3 separate regions of the Homo sapiens genome follow, and regions 1 and 3 are each linked to region 2. The links are contacts of gene promoters, found by promoter capture Hi-C in blood cells and fetal thymus (Javierre and others, 2016). All regions are on one chromosome and are shown on one strand. Each heading gives the region's core, a stretch centred on a gene start or on the middle of the fragment in contact. The rest is flanking DNA. Distances are from core to core; before and after follow the strand shown.

The links. The method cuts DNA at HindIII sites, captures the fragments that hold promoters and counts their contacts. A CHiCAGO score of 5 or more calls a contact.
Region 1: a fragment that was not itself captured here is called in contact with the fragment with the promoter of FBLIM1 in region 2 in 3 of 17 cell types (M1 macrophages, erythroblasts and M0 macrophages); the score reaches 6.2 in M1 macrophages.
Region 3: a contact is called between a fragment that was not itself captured here and the fragment with the promoter of FBLIM1 in region 2, in 4 of 17 cell types (M2 macrophages, M0 macrophages, endothelial precursors and 1 more). The highest score is 7.3, in M2 macrophages.

Annotation. Positions count from the first base shown.
Region 1 is chr1:15,990,541-15,993,878 of GRCh38, forward strand. No RefSeq gene overlaps it. Among named protein-coding and RNA genes, the nearest start is that of SRARP, 12 kb to the right of the region's middle. The HindIII fragment of the contact is 5,362 bases long and covers 1-3,338 here.
Region 2 is chr1:15,757,468-15,760,600 of GRCh38, forward strand. It overlaps FBLIM1 (filamin binding LIM protein 1), which reads left to right and starts at 1,328. Exons shown (of 9, transcript NM_017556.4): 1 at 1,328-1,381. The HindIII fragment of the contact is 4,964 bases long and covers 1-2,774 here.
Region 3 is chr1:15,565,275-15,568,501 of GRCh38, forward strand. It overlaps DNAJC16 (DnaJ heat shock protein family (Hsp40) member C16), which reads left to right. Exons shown (of 15, transcript NM_015291.4): 12 at 645-725; 13 at 808-906; 14 at 1,825-1,995; 15 at 2,504-3,227. The coding sequence ends at 2,903. Among named protein-coding and RNA genes, the nearest start is that of AGMAT, 18 kb to the right of the region's middle. The HindIII fragment of the contact is 1,321 bases long and covers 884-2,204 here.

The sequences.
Region 1 (3,338 bases), core at 530-3,029, 230 kb after region 2:
GGTGGGGTCCCCAGATGAGAGGGTGGGAGACCTCAGGGTTCAGGGGCCTCTGCAGCTGTCCAGCTCTTCCAGCTGATGGTCCCACATCTTGGGAGCAGGCTGATTTCATGATGGGCTGGGGGCTTCTCAGGATTCCACAGCCCAAATAGCGCAAGGGTCCAGGGCCTCCAAGACCACCAGGAGCATGTGGCACCCAGGCCATACCCCAAGACCATGAGGCACGCAGTGAGTTTATGGTCCCCCCAGCTCTTCCCCAGTGGCCCTGCATCCTGTGGGGCCGGAGGAGCCAGGGGCTGCCAGACCCTCATGGGGCTGGTGAGAGGGTGAGTTCTAGCCAGGGCCTGACCTGGGACGTGGGGTTCTCCATGGATTTGGAGTTGGGTTTCCTTTCCTGCCCTGGAGGAGACAGAGGCACAGGGACTGGGGCCAGTTCCCACAGAGCAGGGCTAAGGACAGTGTGTCCACCAGGAGTGCAGGGAGGGGAAGGTGTAAGGAGCCCTGGACACCGCCCAGTGTTCTGCACTTGGGGAAGGGTCTTCAGAGGGCCCTGGAAGAGGGAGGTTTTTAGGGCAGCCCAGAGGGACCTGAGCACCTCTGTTCCTCCCATCAGGACAAGGAAGGGCTATGCATTCAGGGTTCCTCATTAGGTTGGTTGCTTTGGAGCTTGATCAATGGGGTAAGGAGGCACAGGGAGACCCTGGCTCAGGGACCCTCCTTGCCCTACAGGGCCCTGCTCTTCGCCCAGGGGTCCGGTTCACCCCCAGCACATAGGAGGCACAGGCAGATATCTGCAGGACACACAAGCAAAGCCCTCTGCCCAAGAGGGGTCATCCCACGGCAGAGGCTGGGACTCAGGCCCAGCCTCATGGGCAGACTGGGCCAGGACCCACTTGGGAGGGCTCAAGGAAGCCTCAAGTCCTGGGGAAGCCCCTCTCTCCAGAAGCCACATCCCCACTGAAATGAGTGCTCCCCCATGAGGAGCTGCAAGACCTTGTCTGACCCAGCCTCCTGAAGGGGTCTGATGACCCTCATGGGAAGGGTCAGTGACTGGGGGACTGAAGCCCCAGTGGGCCCGGCTCGAGCCACCAGCCCCCAGCCTGGAAGGGCCAGGTCCTCCCACACCTGCTGTCCCCACAGATCTCTCTCGGGCTCACCCTGAGCCTTTGGGACGTGTATTTGCTAGAAGGGGAACAGGTGTTGACGCCAATGGCACGCACTGCCTTTAAGGTTCAGAGGAGTAAGTCCACGTGTGCCCAATGGGGACTGGGGAGCACAGGGGTCAGACCCTGACTGGCCCGGTGGCAGCTTCCTCACACTGTCCCCATGATCCTCTTCTCTGGCCCAGAGGGAGGTCTGGCTGGGTAGGCTGGGCAGGGAACAGTGACATACCCCCTCCTGTGGGAGCCCATCCCCTACATGACCCAGATGAAAGTCAGGAGTGTGGTGAGCACTTCCCTGCTCAGGCTGCCCCCTAGCCACAGCCTCCTGTGCACATCTGGACCCCTGGGGTGGCCACAAAGGGATCCGGCACTCCCCAGTGGGAGATGCTGAGGTAGTAACGGGGTATGGGCTCTGACCCCTCCCAGGGAACACTCCTAGCCTGATGCCTACCCTGTCCCTAGAGCACCTCGTGAAGATATCCAGGTGTGGCCGTGGGCATGTTTTCAGGACCAGTTTTCCCATACCTGGGCCCTGGATGATGATGCAGTTCTCAGACACCCTTGGGCCTCTATGAGGAAACAAGGAAGCCTGGGGACCTGCCACCCCCAGGTGGCCTGCAGCACCAGGTACCCTCCCGAGTCACCCCCTGGGGCAGTCAGTAGTTGGGGAGTGCCCAGGACCTCCAACACTACTACTTGGGCCTTCCTCTTCGCCTTTTCTTCCTCCTCTTCCTCCGGACTCTAAGAAAGTACAATAGGCCCCCAGGTCCTCAGGGCAGGTGGTCAGTTTGTGTGTACCGGACGTGCTGTGCAAGCAGGAGGGGGATGTGCGCAAGACTCTCCAACAAGCCCCCTCCCACTTTCCACCATGTCCCACTCTCCCCTTCAAAGGGCCCTCAGGGTCATTGGAGGAACCAGATCCATCTATGGGACTCCCCACCCCTCCCTGCGAGCACTGACAGCCTCAGAGAGCAGCAGAGGCTCCTCACTCCTGAACACCCCTCCAAGGGTGCCAGGACAACAAGCCTTGAGCCAGAGAGACAAGGGAATCTATGTCCCTGATCCCCGACCAGGGCGTTTAGTGGGTGGGCACAGGGGGGACCCCTGGCCCAGAGCCAGAGCCAAGAGTTCAGCCAGGTGTGGGAACGGTCAGTCCTGGCATGGACTGGGCAGCCCAGGAGGGCAGAGGGGGCTCTGTATCTGGGCTCTCTCACCCACCGTGGAAACAGGTCTCCATGTGAGGTGGCGAGGGGACTGGGTGACAGCCAAGGCCCCTCCCACCTGAGTTCTGACTGGAGGCTGTATCCCAGGCTCAACAGTCCTGGGATGACGGCATGGGGCAGGAAGCCCCCAGCCAGCCTGAACTCTGGGGGAGGGCAGTCCCAGGAGCCACCTGCTGCACCCCGACAGCTTCCCACCACAGGAGGCACAGACCCCTCCGTCTGCGATCAGCAGCCTGCAGGTGTGTCCTCAGTGTCAGACCACAGGGGCTACACAGAGACCCTGAGGACTCCAGAGACCCAGGCAGGTGGAGCCCGGCCAAGAAAGGACTGCGTGGGCTCACTGGAGATGCTGACCACGTCTGTTTCTTTCAGCCAAACCTGAGCAAGGGTCCTTGGCACCCAGGCCTGGGCTGGCTTCACCTGGCAGGAAGACCCTCTGGCAGGGGGACAGGCAGGCCCCTCCTGGCCCAACAACTCGGTTCCAGTGGCCCATTTGGCCAGCTTCCCCGCCATGGGTGGCCCGTTTGGTCAGCTTCCCCTCCATGGGTGCCTCGTCCTTTCATACCCTGTCCTGATGGGACTATCTGTGAGGCCAAGGCCCAGTGGCACGAGGGGGCTTCCATGGAACCTAGGGCAGCAGGCCATTCTCTGGGGGCACCGGGGACTGAGGGTGTGCCCAGCCTGGCCCTGGCTCAGGGGGAACCTCAGGTTTCCTGGAGGTTCCTCCAGTGGAACTCCATGCCACGGCTCCATCCCTATGAACCTGGATGTGGGGGGCCCTCGTTGCCCCCCGTTATGATTTTGAACAGAGCTGCTGGGTCCAAGTCCCTTCCAAATGTGTCCTGGACAGCCCCAGGACCATGGGACAGCCTAGCCCAGGAAGCCCATGGGGACCCCGAAACCAGGCCCTGCCCAGGCCCATCAGGACTAAAAGGGAGGTCGGGAGATACCCCGA
Region 2 (3,133 bases), core at 78-2,577:
TGGGACTGCTGCTGTTACTGCAGCTTGGCTGAGAGGATCAAATGGGAAAAGGGGCGACAAGAGGGATGGGAGGGGCGATGATCAGTGGGTGAGGGCGGAGGCAGCCTCCTCTGACCCTCATAAACCAGCCTCCCTCAGAAACAGCCCCAGAGCCACCCTGGAGGGGTGACTGTAGCTGAGGGGTTGCAGGACGGGCCAGATCCTGTCTGGCCACCCCGCAGATGGCGCTGGGTCCAGCGCTCCTCAAGCCTCAGCCACTGTGGCTTTAATCAAAAGAACAATCTGTCTGCCTCTGAATCAGACCCAGATTCCTTTCCCCACAATGTCCCTGAGGCCTCCAGGGACCCAGGCAGTCCATCCCGGCCCCATCCCGGGCCCCAGAGTCCAGGCTCTGCCTCCCCTCCCGCTCCCGTCCTAATTGCTCCAGCTGGGAGGGGGAGGGTCACTGGATGTGGAGGGAGGGGTTCAGCCACAGGGCCAGCCGGGCCCTGCCTTCCAGAGCTCCTGGAGCGGCCTGTCCCCCGGGACACCGGGACCCACCTGCAGAGGGCTTACCGCTCAGGAGAGCAGAACAAGGTGACCTGCTCCACTGGGGGTCTCCGAGACCCCCACCCTCAGGAACACTCCCGGAAAAAGCCCCCAACCCAGCATATATTAACCACTATTAATCACAGTCCTGGCTGTAACTGTCACCTTTTATCCTCAGGCCAACCTGGAGAGGTAGGCAGTGGCTACCTCCACTTTACAGATGAAGACACTGAGGCTCAGGAGGTGGCGTGACTGCTCCGGGTCTCACGCTTAGTAAACGGCCGCAGAACCCTGGTCGGTTTGACGCAAGACCCTGGCGGATCCCAGAGCCAAAGTAAGCGCTCACCTCCGCCGGACAGGGTAGGTGGGGTTGCCAACCCAGGAGAGCGAGGGAAGGGGGACGGCAGGGACCACTCGGGGTCCATGAAGAACGCGAGGGGATGGGCAGCGGGGAGGGAAGGAAACCCACCCCGACTCCCCATTCTCCTACCCCCACTCCCCATCCCTCCCATTCCCCCATCGCCCCCATCCCCATTCCCCCCCATTCCCACCCCCTGGCCTGTGCCAAGGGGGAGGGGAGGCGTCGTCCAGGGAACAAAGGGAGGGGGAAGGGGCGGCGCGGGGCGCGGCCGGGCAGGTTGGGGGGCAGGTAGGGGCCGCTTCCGCGGGGCGGGAATCCCGCGCCCCCTCCCCCCGAGCCTCACCTTTTATGGTAAAGCGGCGCGGGGCGGCGGGGCGGAGGGAGCCGAGGGGGCGGGGAGGGCGGACGGGCGGAGGGGACGGGAGGCCCAGCGGCTCCGGGCTCCGCTGGCTCGGGCGTCGGATCGGAGCCGCCGGGGCGCGGGCGGCCCAGGTAAGCGGGCCGGGTGGGTGGGGGTCGCGTCCCTCCGTCCCTGTCCCCGGTGCACACAGGTGACAGCGCCGGCAGTGCTCGGCCGGAGCCTGCTCGGTCGCCAGCCGGGACCCCCGGCGCGGCGCCCCTGGAGGGGCCTGCGGGTGGGGGGTGCGGTCCTCACGCCCTTTGCGTCCCAGTCTCTTGGTCTCTCTCCCCGGAGTCGGGGAGTCGGCAGGTCCGGGGCGAGGGCTCAGTGAGGCCGGCGGAGGGCCGAGTCCCAGCCCGGGAGCGGGAGCCGGGGACCCGGCGCGCAGGGCGGAAGCTCCCGCACAAAAGGCCGGAGTCCCGCACATGGATCGAATTAAAGCTCCGGCGGCGCCCAGCGGTGACCCCGGCGGCCGCCCTGCTCGGCTGCCTGCGGAGGGTCCCGCGTTTCCGGAGCCCGGGGGCGCTCCAGGCCCCTTTTCCTAGCCAGGGTCAGGCAAGGGGAGGGACGGGTCCCGGGGCTGCTCCTCTCTGGGCCTCACGCGCCCGTCGGGGGCTGAGAAGGTGTGGAGATGGGCGATACCCAGGTGTGTGCCCTGGGATGATCTTGGCGTCGGCCCCTACCCCTCACCTCCCACCCAAGCCTGAGGACCCCGGGGAGAGGCTGGGGCCGCGCCCAGATTCCTGCTCTTAATGACGCTGTAGGTTCTGTCCGGGTCCTGGAGGCACCCCCAGCCGAGCCCAGCCCCCGGGCTGCTTCTCCCTCTCAGCTGCTGCCTAACCAGCTGTCCTTCTCTTTGCACCTTCCAAGGGCCTAGACCCTGAGTCTTCTTTCCTTATATATCCTCTCAGCCGCCCTAGGGACACACTCATTCTCACTTTATGAAAAAACGAGGCCAGAGAGTTTCTGTGACCTATTCGGGGTCACCCCGCAGGAAAGAAGTGGGGCCGCGTGTGAACCCAGCTCTCTACCTCCTCTGTTTCCCTGGGGTGGGAAAGAGGTTGAGGGAACCCCTCCCCTAAGTTGCAGGGTGGGAGGGGTTGGGGCACACCCCGCCACTTCTGCCTAAATTTAATTCCGTACCCAAAGGTAGACTGCTTTATCCGGTCATTAAAGAACAAAGCTGGCCGGGAGCGGTGGCTCACGCCTGTAATCCCAGCACTTTGGGAGGCCGAGGCGGGCGGATTACCTGAAGTCAGGAGTTGGAGACCAGCCTGGCCAACGTGGTGAAACCCCGTCTCTACTAAAAATACAAAAATTAGCCGGGTGTGGTGGCGCGCGCCTGTAATCCCAGCTATTCGGCGGCTGAGGCACGAGAATCGCTTGAACCCAGGAGGCGGAGGTTGCAGTGAGCCGAGATCGCACCACTGCGCAGCCTGGGCCACAGAATGAGACTCTGTCTCAAAATAAATAAATAAATAACAAAGCTTAAGCCGGGTGTAGTGGCTCAAGCCTGTAATCCCAGCACTCTGGGAGGCCGAGGAGGGCGGATCACTTGAGGTCAGGAGTTTGAGACCAGCCTGGTCAACATGGTGAAACCCTGTCTCTACCAAAAATACAAAAATTAGCCAGGGGTGGTGGCGTGTGCCTGTGGTCCCAGCTACTCAGGAGGCTGAGGCAGGACAATCGCTTGAACCTGGGAGGTGGAGGTTTCAGTGAGCTGAGATTGCGCCACTGCACTCCAGCCTCGGCCACAGAGCAAGATTCTGTCTCAGAAAAAAAAAAAAAAAAAAAAAGAACAGAGCTTAGAGGTGGCCCCAGAGGTTTTTTTGTTTTTTTTTTTC
Region 3 (3,227 bases), core at 294-2,793, 190 kb before region 2:
ACGTGGAGTCCAGTGTATAGATGTAAAAGGAATGAGTGAATTAACCTCAAGAGGGATACCCACTCCCACCTACTGATGAGACCATGAGCCCCTGAAGGACAGAACCACATCTCATTCGTGTTTGTGATTCCTGGCACCCAACACAGCACCTGACAAATGACAGCCTTTGATGGGTGTTGGTAGGTACATAAAATTTCAGAACACCAGTCCTAGATGAAATCTTGAAAGATCAATTTTATCTCCCTACTCCACCCCTCTGGGCTACATCTGAATTTTTCTGGCCAGAAAAAAATCAGTAAAGTTGAGGAAATAATTCCACAATGTCAGAAAATTCTTCCATGTTTACACCTTAAGTCCTTTATTATCCCTTTTATTGTTTCCTCATGCAGAACTTATTGAGCATAGCCTATTATACTGAGATACAAAATCAAACTTTTAGAATAAGCTGTCTGTGAATTAGAACACTGAGCAATCTCTACCTTCCCCTCCACCACCTCCACCCGCCAAGAAAAGCTCTGTTTGCCTGAAATTAGTAAGCGTTTATTGGTGTGAAGAGTTTTTGGTTTGGGATTTTTATTTTATCTTTTTTTAGCTGGAGAGAAGAAATTTTAACTTGAGCTAATAGTTTGTTAATTTGGTTTTAGGAGGGAAATGATGCCCCTGCTGTCCCTGATCTTCTCTGCCCTCTTCATCCTCTTCGGCACTGTCATCGTTCAGGCTTTCAGGTAAATGTCCTGTGGCTTCTCGGTGCACCACCATGGTTGGTGTTGACACTTTTTTTGTAAAACTCCTTTTTTCTTACTTTAGCGACTCTAATGATGAGCGAGAGTCAAGCCCTCCAGAAAAAGAGGAAGCCCAAGAGAAGACTGGGAAAACTGAGCCAAGCTTCACCAAAGAAAACAGCAGGTTTCTCTAACAAAACACCAGACTCACCTCCCCGGCACCTGCCCCCCAGATCCTGTCATCTGATAACGCAGCATTGGAACATAGAGTGTAGAGAAGAACTCTCATGCACCTCCTCCCATGTAAACTGTGGCTACAGGGAAAAGTCACTGTGATTTGTGTTTACTAAGACCCTGTAGGTGTTTAGATGCCTTAGATTTCATAATGAAGGCAGAAGGAAAGAAGCCTATCAGGCAAGTGTTAGGTGAGCCAGAAGCAGGACGTGGTTTATCCCTGTAAATGTCAATGAACGTAACCAGTCTTGTGCGCACACACACCCAGCAGCAAGAGGCCAGGGTCTCCGAGACAAAGAACATAGACTGAATGATAGTTGTCTTCTTCATTCTGTCCTAGAGCAACTTCTGCACCTGAAAAGCAGCATCAAGCAGGGCACAGTGGCTCACGCCTGTAATCCCAAGACTTTTAGGAGGCCTAGGTGGGAGGATTGCTTGAGCCCAGGGTTTGAGACTAGCTTAGGCAACATGGCAAGACCCTGTCTCTACAAAAAACTTATAAAATTAGCTGGATGTGGTGGCAGGCACCTGTAGTCCCAGCTACTTGGGAGGCTGAGGTAGGAGGATCACTTGAGCCCAGGAGGTCGAGGCTGCAGTGAGCCATGATCATGTCGCTGCACTCAAGCCTGGAAAACAGAGCAAGAACCTATCTCAAAAAGAAAAAGAAAAGCAGCACAGAAAGGCTGTTTGTAGGTCAGGGATTACCAAGTCAGGCCATCCCCATCCTACCAATGTGTTAGACTCAAGAATAGTGAATAACATACCTAGTCTGGTTAGAACATAGCATTTTCTTTCAGCTGTTTCTTTTCAAAGTAACGGCTTTCCCCCTATCCTGACAGCATCTTAACTCCTCAATATTTCTCCACAGCAAGATTCCTAAAAAAGGCTTTGTGGAGGTAACTGAACTCACAGATGTAACATACACCAGTAACTTGGTACGTCTGAGGCCAGGCCACATGAATGTGGTCCTCATCCTGTCGAATTCTACCAAGACCAGCCTACTACAGAAATTTGCTTTGGAGGTCTACACATTTACTGGGTAAGCATGTGTGTGTGTGCATGTATGTATGTGTGTGAGAGAGAGAGAGGCAGGCACACTGAAATTGCACGCTTTTCTCTTTGGTCTTGTGGGGCTTCATCCATACAGCAAGATGCTGGCTGTGACCTTTCCAATCCAGACATCTGAGCCATTGCGACAGGGACCTCTTTTCCCACTTCACTTCGTGTTTTGTTGGTTCTGAACAGAAAAGCTTGAACTCAGTGTTATTCCCTGAGCCCTTTCAGTTACTGTTCTCTAGCCCTTGTGTATTTTCCAGAAGAGCAATGTTAAGTTCCACCGAGCAAGCGATGGGGGAATGGGTGATTGAAGTGTCGCAGCTGCTGGAGAGGCACTGGCTCCCACAGAAGGCCTTCTTTTTCTCTGTGTTCAGGCCCCATCCAACACAAAGCGTTTTCCTATTATTTTAAGTCTCACTGGGGTATTTATTTTCTCAGCAATTAAATGTGTCAGGAAATGCCCTGAGTCCTCAATTCTCTTCTTCCTACAGGAGCAGCTGCCTACACTTCTCCTTCCTGAGTCTAGATAAACACAGAGAATGGCTAGAATACTTACTAGAATTTGCTCAAGATGCAGCTCCAATCCCAAACCAATATGATAAGCATTTCATGGAGCGTGACTACACTGGTTATGTACTGGCTCTGAATGGCCACAAGAAATACTTCTGCCTCTTCAAGCCCCAAAAGACAGTCGAAGAGGAGGAAGCCATAGGGTCGTGCAGTGATGTTGACTCTTCCCTCTACCTGGGTGAATCTCGAGGGAAACCTTCCTGTGGCCTTGGATCCAGGCCCATCAAAGGAAAGTTGAGCAAGCTCTCTTTATGGATGGAACGCCTGCTGGAGGGCTCCTTACAGAGGTTTTATATCCCATCATGGCCTGAACTAGACTGAGAGGATTTTCCAAAGAGATTTGAACTCTTCAGACTTTTTAACATGCCCCTGTGAACAGGTATTTTCAGGACTCAAACTACCACAATGAACAGAGTATAGATTTTAGATTGCTCTTCTAGAACCATGGCTAGAAGAATCTTTCCTTTGTCCTGTTCTAACCTAGGAATGAAAAACACCACCAGTTTGAATCGCCTAGATGAAAATCTTTTCCTCTGGGTGTTATTTTTCCCCACTGAATGCCACACCATTGAAAATAGACTGCTCATCCCCTCTTCCTTTCTTGTCCTTGTCCCATGCTCACCCCACCCTCCTGTCCTGTGTCTT